Regions from separate parts of the Homo sapiens genome. Here region 1 is linked to region 2. The links are contacts of gene promoters, found by promoter capture Hi-C in human tissues and cell types (Jung and others, 2019). All regions are on one chromosome and are shown on one strand. Each heading gives the region's core, a stretch centred on a gene start or on the middle of the fragment in contact. The rest is flanking DNA. Distances are from core to core; before and after follow the strand shown. Region 1 has its middle 49 kb from the start of CA10. Region 2 holds the start of CA10 (carbonic anhydrase 10).

Region 1 (6,288 bases), core at 1,461-3,960, 50 kb before region 2:
AAGCTCTTTGTATAGTGGAATGAGTAACAGGGAAGAAAGTTAAGGGTTCCTCAACTTTGTACAAGAAACATGGGTCAACATCAGACAGAAGGGCAGATTTCCAGCAATCACTCTGCATTATTTACATGACTCCATGCTCCATCAAATCTCCTAGGAAGGAGAGAGTTGTAGCACTGAAACTCCACAATAAGTCTCTGAGAACTTAGCTGTGGCTTTACACAGAGTTTCAAAGAGTTGTAGCTCAAAAGAAATGCAGGTTATATGACAATATTAATGCCCTGCACGGATTAGCTTCAACCATGATATCTACATTAATCTTTTCTTTTACCTGCAGATCTTCCAGAAAATTCTTAGCTCAAGACAACTTGGTACAAGCAACTATGGAAGCTCATCAGTGAGAGACAGAAAACAAACTGGGTTGGAATAAAATCTAGGTGGATGAATTAACTAAATAGAAGATAAGTACTTGATGGCAGTAACCCACAGTACAATCACGATATTCAGAAGGATGTGGTGAGGTTGAGCTTATTCTAATCCTGTGCTCTCCTGCTGCATGAAATACCAAGTCCAGGCAGTGGAAGCATTTTGGTTACAAATGAAACATCTACATGGAACAGGAGCGCAGTCAGCATCAAAGGCTATAAGTTAACAGTGTCTATCTCTAAAACAGATGGGTGTTAAGGACTTGGTGAGATGTCAGTGTCTCAGCAAAGTGTCCCAGGCTTCACTAGAGGAATCAGTATCTGAATCAAGACACCAACGTAGCAGTTCAGAACCAAAGCTCCACAAACCAATGATTTTTGTTTTGTTTTGTTTTGTTTTTGTTTTTGTTTTTTAAAGTGGTGATATGGTTTTGTTGTGTCCCCGCCCAAATCTCACCTTGAATTATAATAATCCCCATATGTCATGGGATGGGCCCAGTGGGAGGTAATTGAATAATGAGGGCCAGGTCTTTCCCATGCTGTTCTCATGATAGTGAGTAAATCTCATGAGATCTGATGGTTTTATAAAGAGGCGTTCCCCTGCACACACTGTTTTGCCTGTTGCCATGTAAGACATCCCTTTGCTCTTCCTTTGACTGCCGCCATAATTATGGGGCTTCCCCAGCCATGTGGAACTGTGATTCCATTAAACCTCTTTCCTTTATAATTTACCCGGTCTTGGGTATGTCTGTATTAGCAGCATGGGAACAAACTAACCCAAGTGCCAAAACCATACAGGTGGAGTTCCCAAGCAAGTTGGCTAGTGTACTGTACTATACAAAGAATAGTTCCAGGCCCCATCAGCTGGAGTGGCTGGTTCTGATACTCTGCCCCCTACCTTGCTCAGGTCTGACTAAGAACCTAGGCAAGGTATATATACCTTTAGTTGAAATGCCTTCAACATCTGAGCTGACTCATGTCAAGGGAAGCAGGAACTAACATTGTGAGCATCTAGTATTTACCTACCTAGACTCATTTTTATCAGCCTATTTTCTTTACACTGACACCAGCACAGTACACATTTTTTTCCCAGTATTTCTGAGATTATGTAAGCCTCACCATCACTTATATAAAAGTTGGGTTTTATGTTACCTGATAAAAGCCATGATTTTTTGAGTACCTACTATATTCCAGGTACTACACTAGGTATTTCAAATACAGTACTGATTTTCAAAACAGTGCAAAATAGGTATCCTTATGCTCAGAAGAGGTAGATAACTTTCTCAAGGTTATAACACAGGGCTGAGATATAAACCCAGATACATCTGACTCCCAAGTGTGTGTATCTTGCACTACATTTCCCTGAGAAATATTTAAATTCATTTTAATGTAAGTTTTCTGTGTGAAGTTTTTAATATAACCAGTTAAACATAAGCTCTTTCCTTCAACCTGAGTCTGATTTCAATGTACGTTCAATCCTTTAAAAATGCTTTTCATATTGAAAAGCAGTTTTAGCAGAATAAACACTGATCAGAAATGAGATGTGAGATCTCATGCCAGTGAGTCATGTGACCTTGGGAAGTCTTTCACTTATCTAGAAAAATGTTCTTAAAAAAAAACGTGGGGGAGTAAAGACTAGCAGTGGGGGAAGGACTAAACTTGAAAAATTAAACTCTGAGAGTATCTTCTAGCTCTCCAAACTTAAGGGTCTCTCCAATCCTTTAGAAGTCATTCTCTTTATATACTTTAAACACTACCTTTTGCAAAGGAATCATAAAAAAAAGATAATTTTAAATTTACTTTAAAAAAATTATCCAGCTGTCTGCATATCTCAACAAGTTAGTCAACTTCCTTCACTTGTGTGCAACTTATGAGCATGGCAATTATGATATTTGAAGTTGACAACTCAAAGCTATTTGAAGCCGACAACTCAAAGCTATTTGAAGCCTTGTTAACCAATGAAAATGTATAGATACAGATAGCAAATAAATCAAATTCTTGTCTTCAACTAGAAATGCATTTTCAACATAATTCAATTTAAGGAACCAGTGTCTTAGTTTTAACCGTGAAAATATCATTAGATGATGTATGTGAAAAAAAAAAAAAGAGACTAGATGTAATCATGTCCTTCACAAAAGAGTTGACACTTGCAATGTTAGTACTGCAAATAAAAGTGTTTTCAGACCTTAAAATAAAAGTCTGTGGAATTCTTCAGGTACACAGCTGTAACAAAATCACCTATCTGACTGCCTTTGTGGCCTAAGCTAAGGACTATGTGAAAGAGAGAAAGGAAAAAAAAAAAGGAAAGAAAGAAAGGGAAGGGATGGGAAGACCTAGAAGGAAGCACATAATAGACTGCTTTGACTAGGTAATTTTTCACATAATGTTAAATGCAGATGGTTAGAATAGTTCATCGTGATTTTGCAGTCTGGTCTCAGGTTTATTGCTAGAATTAATTTCTACATTTCTGTGAAGGACATTATACATTCCATTCCTATGGTTTTAAATAATAAATTAATTTTAATGCATTTTTGCTCTCACTTGAATGGAAAAGATGAAGAGCAACTGATAGGCTCTGAGTTTTTAGAACGCCTTTCAACAAGATTAAAAGCATAAGGCATCCCAAGTCGGCTCTTCTAAAAACAGAAAGTGGCCATCTGCTGGGGCTGCAGAGCTGTTCTACTCTAGAGTGCCATGTAGTCCAGCAGAACAGACACAGCACAAGGTACACTCCTTGACCAAACTGATCCTTAGACAGAGTCATGGCTTTGTGTGCTTTCAATCAACATATTGTTTGAGGTGCCCTCTATTTCTATGTGACATAACTAATGAAAAGAAAAAAGCTACTTGTAATCATACCAGAACTAGAAAATGAAAATAACCCCAGTGAACTCGCTAGCAATCCTAAAGAATTCCTGGGTTTCCCTACAGTTATTCCAGCTAGCAGGTGGAACTAGGGAGGGAAATTGTGTTGCTCATTATAAATTAAATGCTATGTTAGGACTTGAGTAGAAAGTGGAATGAAATTATTTTAATTTTGTTTGTTCATTTCGTTTTTTGCTTTCTTCCAGCACCTCTTTCCTGTTTGTAAATCTTCACCTATCTTCAATCCTTTCTTGTTTGCCTTTCTACACTGTATGGTACTGAAAATTGTGCTGGAAAGCCAATTCTCAAGGAAGTCTCTTCTCTTAATTTACTCTCCAATTTCTAATGGGTGCATTTTTCTGAGGTCCAAGCATAAAGCTTGGGTGAATTTTTCTTCCATTAAATACAGAATTCCATGATCTTTATTTAAAAATATATTGATATCTGATGGGAAGACCAGACACCTGAAAAGACATGCTGACTCTCAGTCAGTCTTAATGATTAACCCAGGCCCACTGAAAGCAGATTTGAGAACACAATGCTACACTTTATTGTTCATCAATTGATTGAATACTGAGATATTTCAGGAAGATATGTGTGGCAAACACTGTTAGCTGGCAAAGCCAACAGCCATCCTCCAGCCAGCCCCTTTTTCCTTGCCTACATTCATCTATAGGCTGAGAAGGCTAAATGCTTGTCCAGTCTCCCATACAGCTCACAATGGCCATGTGAGTTTCAGGCAATGAGAGAGGAGCAGAAGTCTGATGGGGACTTCTGGAAACACATGTGCTTTCCTCATAAAAAGAACAAGTAAACTGGCATTTCTTCCCTTGTCTCCTTTCTTTCTACTTTGGATGCAGATGTAATGTCTGTAACTATTGCAGCCACCTTTGAGGCAACAAGTATAAAGACAAAAGCCAAGAAGCAAAAGATAATGGAGTAAAATTAGAAGCAGATCCTGAGGCCCTGGTAGCACAATGAGCCAGCTGAACCAACAACTTGCCTCCATATTTCTAGTGAATGAAAAAAAAATGCCTCTATTTGTTTAAGCCGCTGTTTTTCTGGTTTTTGTTTCTTGCCATTGAAATCCTTCCAAATGATAGAGCAGTTGTGTTTTCAAAATCTAATAAGCTACTTCTGTGTGGTGATCATAAAATCTGGCATTTGTTTAGCATTTCCCAATTTACAAAGTTGGGTTTTGCCATATATTATCTCATTTAATCTGTACAATAGGATGGTAAAGCAGGAATTACAAACATAGCTTTAAAGATGAGCCAAGTTAAGCACAGAGGGTTTAAAGTAACTTGCTCAAACTCACAGAAAGAGAACATGGCACAATTGAGGACTTGGACTCTTAGCCTCTGACTCCAGTTCCCAGCTGATCATAATTTTCTCATATTGGAAACCAAACTCTTGACTTTGCCTATTTATTATGTTCTTCATAATCCCCGAAGTACTTCTGTGAATCAGTCTTTAAAAGATAACAGACAGGAATTGGATAGAAATTTCTGAACTCATAGCCTGGAATGAACTAAAGCACTTTGATAAACCCTGAAGTTTTAAAGAGGAATAGTAGGAAATAATTCAATTCTAAGGATTTCACAGGCTACTAAAAAAGACAAACATATAAACAAGTTATTCTAATTATAATATAGAGTGGGGATAATGGTTGGATGTTTATCTCAGTACAGGAATCTTAATTCTTCCTTTGGGGGAGTGGGGATGAGGAATGCATGAAGGAGGAAGCCATGGAAACAAAAACAGGGCATGCCACTAAGCAGTTCTGTATGGCTGTGATATATTTGGAGTGGGGTGATTTATAGGGCTTCAAAGCCAAACATGTCTAGATCATCAAGATTCTTATAGGTACTAGGGTTTTTCTATTTAGGTGGGTGATTAAGATCAATAAAAATATTTCAAACATGGTCATGTTATATATAGAATTATATTTTTGAATACATCTTTGGCATCAGGCAATAAACTGGAAGTAGACAAGACTGGAGACAGGGGGCGAGTAGGATGCTGGGGCAAGCTTCCCAGCAAGATATAATGAGACCACAAACTCCAGTAATGTCTGTGGGTTGCATAGGAGGAAACAGATTGGAGACATATTCAGATATTATAATCTATGGGCTATAGTAGACAACTGGACACAGTTGAAGGGGTGGTTGGTATGTGAGAAGGAAAATATAGGATTATACGCAGGTTTCTGGCTTGGGCTACTAAGGAGGTGGTGGTGCCATTTATAATAGAAAATACTAGAGAAGAAGTATAGAGGGGTAGAGAGGCATAAAAAGGAAAATAAATTCCACATTGCATATGTTGAGTCCAATAGCCTTTTAGAACCTCCAGATAGGGATGTTCTATCAGAACATGAAAGATCAGAATGAATCAGAAATGAAAGATGTAATTCAACAAATATTTCTGGACTGGAGACATCAATTTCTGAAGTTATGGAGGTAAATAAAATCTCACTGGGAGCATGTGTAGAGTCAGAGAAGAAGGAAATAGAGCTCTGTAGGAACATAGACATTTAAAGAGTGAGCAAAAGCATGGGATCCAATGAATGGAATGAAGTAAGAGAAACCAGAAGGGGAGGAGAAAAGCAAGCAAACAGAGAGAAGTTCTTTCCAGAAAGCTTCCAAATAGGTCTCAAGAAGTTAGTGAGTGGGCAATAATAATCTTAGTAATAATAGATGACACTATTGAGCACTTACATGCAATATTGCTTTTCATCTCTGTACTGTCAATGATCATAAAGAGGTTAAGTAATACAAGGGCTGAAAATTTACAATTGGATTTTGCCACAAGTGAATCTGAAGAGGTTACATAATTATCATGACGATGTTAAGTAATATAAGGGCTGAAAATTTACAATTGGATTTTGCCACAAACCAATCTAACCCTCAAAAAAAATGGCATTTCCATCAAATGGGGAGTGTAGAAGCCAAATTGCAGTAGGCAGAGAATTGAGTGGGAGGTGAGGAAGTAGAAGGCAGTA
Region 2 (6,363 bases), core at 3,684-6,183:
TAATAATGATATTAGTGTCATCTGTAGAAAATCTTTGTCTAACCCAAACTTACAAAGATTTTCTTTTATTTATTTTGAGTAGTTTTAAAGGCTTGGGTTTTACATTTAGGTTTATAATCCATTTTGAGTTCATCTTTTTTTTATATAGTGTAAGGTATGGATTGTAGTTCATCTTTATTTTTTCTCAAAAATAGACATCGAAATATTGAAAAGGCGATTTGTTAAAAAGACTATTCTTCCTCCAAGGAAATGAGTGTGCACCTTTGTTGAAAATCAACTCAATCAATATATGTCAGACTATTTTTAGACTCTCTCTGTTCTATTGATTTGTCTATATTCTACTACATTGTCTTGTACTACATTGTCTTGATTACTATAGCTTTATAAGCCTTGAAGTTACATAATTTAAATATTCCAGCTTTGTTTATCTTTTTCCAAAGTGTTTTGGCTATTTTAGTTCCCTAGTATTTTTATATGGATTTTAGAAACAGCTTGACAATTTCTATTTAAAAATTTGCTGGGATTTTTATTAGGATTATATTGACTCTATAGATCAGTTTGGGGAAAATTGGTATTTTAACAATATTGAGCTTTCTCATTCATGAACATGGTATATCTTTCCATTTATTTGGGTAATTTTATCTTTTTGGTAGAAGTTAGGGGTAGCTTCATCACTAACTTTTCTTTCCCTCTGGCATCTAAGCAATTAAAAATAGAAACATTTTCTAAATGGGAATGGGACAGTCCTTAAATAGAGCTTGATGTGTTTTGAAGTGGCATTTTCCAATTATTCACCCCAAATTCAAAACTAGAACATCACTTATAAGGATGGTTGGGTCTACAAAGAAGGCTCTAAATATGCTTTCCCAGCCACATGCATGATTGTGACTGGCCCCAGAAAGCTAAGTACTGCAAGAAAGCAGAGACCTTACTAGCTCTGCTCTTTGAGAGTGGCATACAAAATAAATATGCATAGGTACACACACTAAAATTGTGAGCTCACTGTGCCTGAAGGTAGCATTACCAAGAAAATAGAGAAGTGGGAAGAGGTATAGATTTCCTTTGTCTTCTAATACAGTGTGCTTGGCCTCTGATAAATGCACCCTAATGAAAGTCAAACTCTTAAAAGTTTATCATCAGTTGAGTCATCCCTTCTTCTATGGCGTTGAGTGAAAGAGAAGGTACAGGAAGAACCCAAAGGAATTTAATATTATTCTCTCTTGGAAAATGGAAATATAATTCCTTGCTTTCTATAGGACAATTGGTATCTCTCACACTTGGGTGGGCTTGGCCAAGACTCTCTGTTAAATGTGTAAGATACTTACACTTGATTTGTAGTGCAGAAATGTAGAGGAGTAGGAAAGGAACAAAAGATAAAGGCGGGTATGATGTGGAGAGATTCTTTGTAGTTATTTAGATATACATATAAGCACATTAAAATATGAAAACGTCTAAGAATATTTTCTAGCTTCATGGAATTTTTTTCCCACATTTATTTGGTTTGTTTTTTGGGCTAAAAAAACAACAAAAAAGAGAGGCAGAATTTACTTAAATTTAAAGGCTTCTATTTAATGCATTTTTTTTTACTGAGTTATTTTCTGTATTAAGATGGTGAATTTCTCAGAAAAACATATAGCAACCTACTCTAGAAATGTAGTAGCCTAGAAATGACTCAAAAATGTATGGCTCTTTCTTCTAGCAATTGCTAGTATGGAATCAATATGTTGGGGACTATTGTGTTCACTGCTGTATTCCAAGTGCCAGAACCAGAACTGACATCTAGCAGGTGCCAAAATTCTATCATTAGAAACGCTTTTGATTACTTCTGATTCCCAGTGATCTTTTCCTTATCCCAACTAATGTAGTTGGGTTCTAAATTGCATTGTCTACCATTAAATTTTAATACCACCTTTGATTAACTTCCAGCTGTCATATGTGTACTTCTGTTCTCTTTAAGTGCAAAATAACCTCCCCAAGATGATATTTTTCATTTTACAGAGCATATAAGGAAGTGGTGTGACATGACTTCTGAGTTTAGACTTTCCAGCTATGGTCTCTACACTACTGATTTGCAGCTGTGGAGCCTTGGGCAAATAACTACCCTGGTATTGTTTTATTGTCAGTAAAAGGGAAGTGATAATGACATTTATCTCACCATCACATTATGATGATTAAATGAGATAATTTATGTAAGGGATTCAGAATCTTCACACATAGTCTTCACACATAACAATCAATACACATAATACTTCACACACAACAATCAATACACTCAAACTTTTTTTAAACTAACAAATACTGTCATGTGAGTTGCCTTTTTTAAAAACTGAAAGCACTTAGTGGCAGATCACAGATTAAATATTCTTTGGGAATGCTGGAGGTGAGTATGCAGACTGAAAGGGTGGAAATAAAGTATTATTTTACTGGCATTGGCTCTTAAAGCAGAATATAGAGGGATATATGGTCTGCAGATTTTTTTGAAAGCAAGGATAATGCATTTTCAATTACAAAGCCCAAGCATCTTGCCACAGTGTTTGACACATATAAGACACTTAATAATTGCAGAATTCATTAGTAAATGAGTGGGTAGTGACATAAAAATTCAGGCACCATGCTTCTGCTTCCAGAGGAGAGACCTCTTCTGCCAGCCTATCTCCCCACCCAAGCAGGGATGGTAGGTCGCTGTCCACGGTTCTGAACTCTCACCAGGCTGGAATCTGCTCATCTTTGTCAGACTGCTTTTTTTTTTTTCTTTCTCCCTCTCTCCTCAAAAAAAGAAAAAGAAAAAAGAAAAAAGAGAGAAAGAAAGAAAGAAAGAAAGAAAGAAAGAAAGAAAGAAAGAAAGAAAGAAAAAATAATAATAATTCTTCATGCAGTCTACTTTCAAGGCACGGAGACAAATGCCCCCATATATTTCCCAAATGGGCTAATTCTCACTATCCGGAATTCTTTTAATGTTCTGAAGTTTCATGCTTTTCCCTGCTGAGCCTGGAAGCTCTCTACATAAGAATGCTGGATTTATTTCATCTGGGCCTAGATTTTTAATGTGTTGACCACCTAGAGTCCTTGGCCTTTGTTTCACAGAACAGATCTCACGGCCACATCTCCTTCTTTAAGAGTAGGCAGGTCTGTCGGCGGTTCCTTTTTCGAATCCCTAGAGTCGGTGGGACTACGTAGCTCTGGCTCCCGCAGCCGCCCAGCCCAGACAGCTCAGAGAGCTGCTGATCTGCTCTGCGTTCTCTCTTTTTCCTCCCTCTTCTCCCCGCCACTCAGCAAAAAGACCCGCCAGACTCCTGGGCAGTTGGAGTCCCTTCAAGAACCCTGGGAGCACTGTAATGTAACTCCTTTAGCTCCCACTCCGCACCCTCAGATGTCGCACAGCCTGGGTGCTGGGATCAACACGGGAAGATTCACTAGATTGACTCTGTGCGGATGAACGGGCACCCTTTCCTTCCCCTCCTCCATCTCCACTTATCTACCCTTTGTGCAGTTCTTAGACCGAGGTTTATACTGAAATAGCTTCTAAACATCAAATATTAAAAGTGGATAAAAAATCCCCGCGGGGTATGTGTGTGTTTGTGTTTGTTATGTGTGTGTTCATCCGCGCTTGTGCAAAATCTCCTAACGTCACAGTTCCCAATCGGGACAAGCGCGCCGAGAAATCCTGGATCTTCCCAGGGATTCCCTCTACGCTCCCTCCTCTTCTTCAATAACCCCAAAGAGGTAGGTTTGAGCTTTCGCAAACCACCACTGCAGCGATGGAAGCAGACAAATCTGTTGAGATTTTGTCTTTCCCCTTTCGTTCCCAGCCCTCTTAGGCAAGCAGTTCTGAGCACAGGGTTTTCTTCAATTCCCCTGCATCCACACTGCAACCGGGTGCAAGTCTTTCCTAGGTTATAGACAGCCCGCCTCCCCACGAGACCTTCTGCGGACTGGCTGCCCCTGGCCTCGGCCTGGGTGGGTGGGTGGTGCTCGCGCCGCCCCTACTTTCCCCTGGGGCCCTGGAGAGCCGCGCGCTGGGTGTGTGTGTGTGTGCGCGCGCGGGTTTGGTGGGGAAATCTCCTTCAGTGGAAGCTGCTGAGTGTCGTTGGCGGAAAGTATCCTGGAGCCCAGCAAAAGCCTCCAAAGCACTAGAGCTTCCCTAAAGAAAAGCAGAATAAAAGAAAGACAAGAAGGGAAGCCCGTTCCTCTAAAGCCCGGGTTTCCAATAGTCCCGGATCCTCCTGGAGTTGGGCGAAGGCGCAGTTGGCAGCAGCCGCTGCTGGCACCCGGACTTGGAAAGGCGGTGTTCCCCCTTTTCGGGAGGAGGGAGGCAGGGACTTGCAGGCAAGAGTTGCACCTGGTCTAGGAACCTGCAGAGAAAAGAACTCTGGGGTAAGTAGTGTTCTGGCACTGGCACGGAAAGGGGTAAAGGGTGGGGGGCATGAGAGGGACGAAATGGAGAGGGCAGGGAATGAATTATGCAAAAAAATCTCCAATATTTCGCAGCGGAGGGAGAGCACAGCACAGCACTCCCAGGATGAGTCCTGCCTGGGTCTCCCGCGCCGAACCCGCAGCACGAAGTTCTTTTTAAGAAGAGAAACTCGAAAATCCTGGAGGGTAACAGAGGCAGCCAGGGCGGGGCGGAGTGCGGAGGCGGCTGCCAGGGACTGGGGCCGAGGCGGCGGCCAAGGTGGCCTGAAGCTGTGACACCCAGCCTCCTCCTCCTCCTCCTCATGGCCGCGCTCAGCCTCACCTCCCCGCCCGGGCCTCCTGCCTCCGCCCCCGGGTGCCGGGCTGCGGAGCTGACGCTGGGACGCCCGGCGGCGGCGAGGACGCTCACCTGGCCAAGCCTCCTTCTCCTCCTCCCCCTCCCGCCCCCACCTGTCCTCCTCCTCTCTGAGTTGGGAAGCGTAGGGATCCGTAGGCGAGGAAATAACGACCCCTGCAGTTGTATTGCGGAAAATCTCGACAGCGGCGCTAGTTGCGGGCGATGGAAGCCAGGCAACTGGGGGTTCTGGGGAGTTCAGGAAAATAGCAGAGGAGCAGGAAGGGCGCGCGCGACCTGGAGAGTCTGTGTGCCCCCACCGCGCCCCAGTCCCCGGGGCCCAGCCCTTCCCCTCGGCGCCCTGGACGCACTGCCGGAACCCGGCTGAGAGGCTGCAGGCTGCGCGCGGACCTGGGGAGCAGGGAGGGTCGGCGGAGGCTGCCGGCGGCTGGCGGTTTCGGGCAATAATCCCTGCCTCTCTTTCTCTGTGTGTCTGCTGTGTCTGCTCCTTCCCCGCCCCCCGGAAGCAGGAGAAGAACTGCCCCGGAGCGCAGCAGCCACCCTCCGACCATGCCCCGGTGAGGGGGGCGGACTTCGAGGGCAACTTGCCGCGGACTGCCTGGGCTTAGCCAGCGAGCTACGCGCTCCCGGGAGCCCGGAATTGCACGGCGCAGCCCGGCGGGGGGCTATCGTCTATGTCTTCTTGGGGCGCCAGACGAATCGGGGTCTCGTTTTTGCTGGAAGAGCCCAGTGTTGGTGGCTTCAGGTGGCTGCTGCCGCCGCCGCCGCCGCCGCCGCTGCTAGTGCGGTTTCCGCCGCTGGTGCGAAGAGAAGAGACACGCGAGCGGGGAGACCTCCAAGGCAGCGAGGCATCGGACATGTGTCAGCACATCTGGGGCGCACATCCGTCGAGCCCGAGGGGAGATTTGCCGGAACAATTCAAACTGCGATATTGATCTTGGGGGTGACTGTCCCTGGCCGGCTGTCGGGTGGGAGTGCGAGTGTGCACTCGCTCGGAAGTGTGTGCGAGTGTGTATGTGTGTGTGCCGTGTCGGGCTCCCCCCTTCCCCCCGTTTTCCCGTCGAGTGATGCACTTGGAATGAGAATCAGAGGATGGAAATAGTCTGGGAGGTGCTTTTTCTTCTTCAAGCCAATTTCATCGTCTGCATATCAGGTACGGGACGCGCCGAAGTCACTGGCTGATTTGGATTATGTTGTGATGTCTGGGGTGTATGGGGTTTTATTGTATATAGCCGCGGGGCAGAGAGAGGGGTGGCGAGACCCTTTGAGTTCTGCGGGTTTGCCGCCTTCAGAATCAAAAATCTTCTCAGCCCAAGGGTGTGTGAATGTGTGTGTTTTGCGGGGGGGGGTGGTTAGGATCTGTGTGCAGTCCTAGAAGGGTGAAGGAAAAAGTGGTGGGGGATGAGAAAGAAGAGGCAGATGGGTGTTGATTTTCAACTGCTTTCCTGGCTGAGAACTCTGGCGCCGAAATCCGAGCCTTGGCAACAACCACCCCCATCCCCTGGCTTTCAAAGTTCCCAGACTCGGTGGTTCCTGGCTGGCAAAATGGACGCGGGGCCCTGCCCGGGTATCTAACCACTTTCAAGAGACTGCGG

Evidence for each region. The method cuts DNA at HindIII sites, captures the fragments that hold promoters and counts their contacts. A contact is called where the count stands out against the background at its distance.
Region 1: a contact is called between a fragment that was not itself captured here and the fragment with the promoter of CA10 in region 2, in 3 of the 25 tissues and cell types used here (dorsolateral prefrontal cortex, heart left ventricle and hippocampus).

Annotation. Positions count from the first base shown.
Region 1 is chr17:52,204,798-52,211,085 of GRCh38, reverse strand. No RefSeq gene overlaps it. Among named protein-coding and RNA genes, the nearest start is that of CA10, 49 kb to the right of the region's middle. The HindIII fragment of the contact is 6,819 bases long and covers 1-6,119 here.
Region 2 is chr17:52,157,284-52,163,646 of GRCh38, reverse strand. CA10 (carbonic anhydrase 10) reads left to right here and starts at 4,933. Exons shown (of 9, transcript NM_020178.5): 1 at 4,933-5,921. The coding sequence starts at 5,861. RefSeq lists a silencer at 4,084-4,378. The HindIII fragment of the contact is 19,034 bases long and covers 1-6,363 here.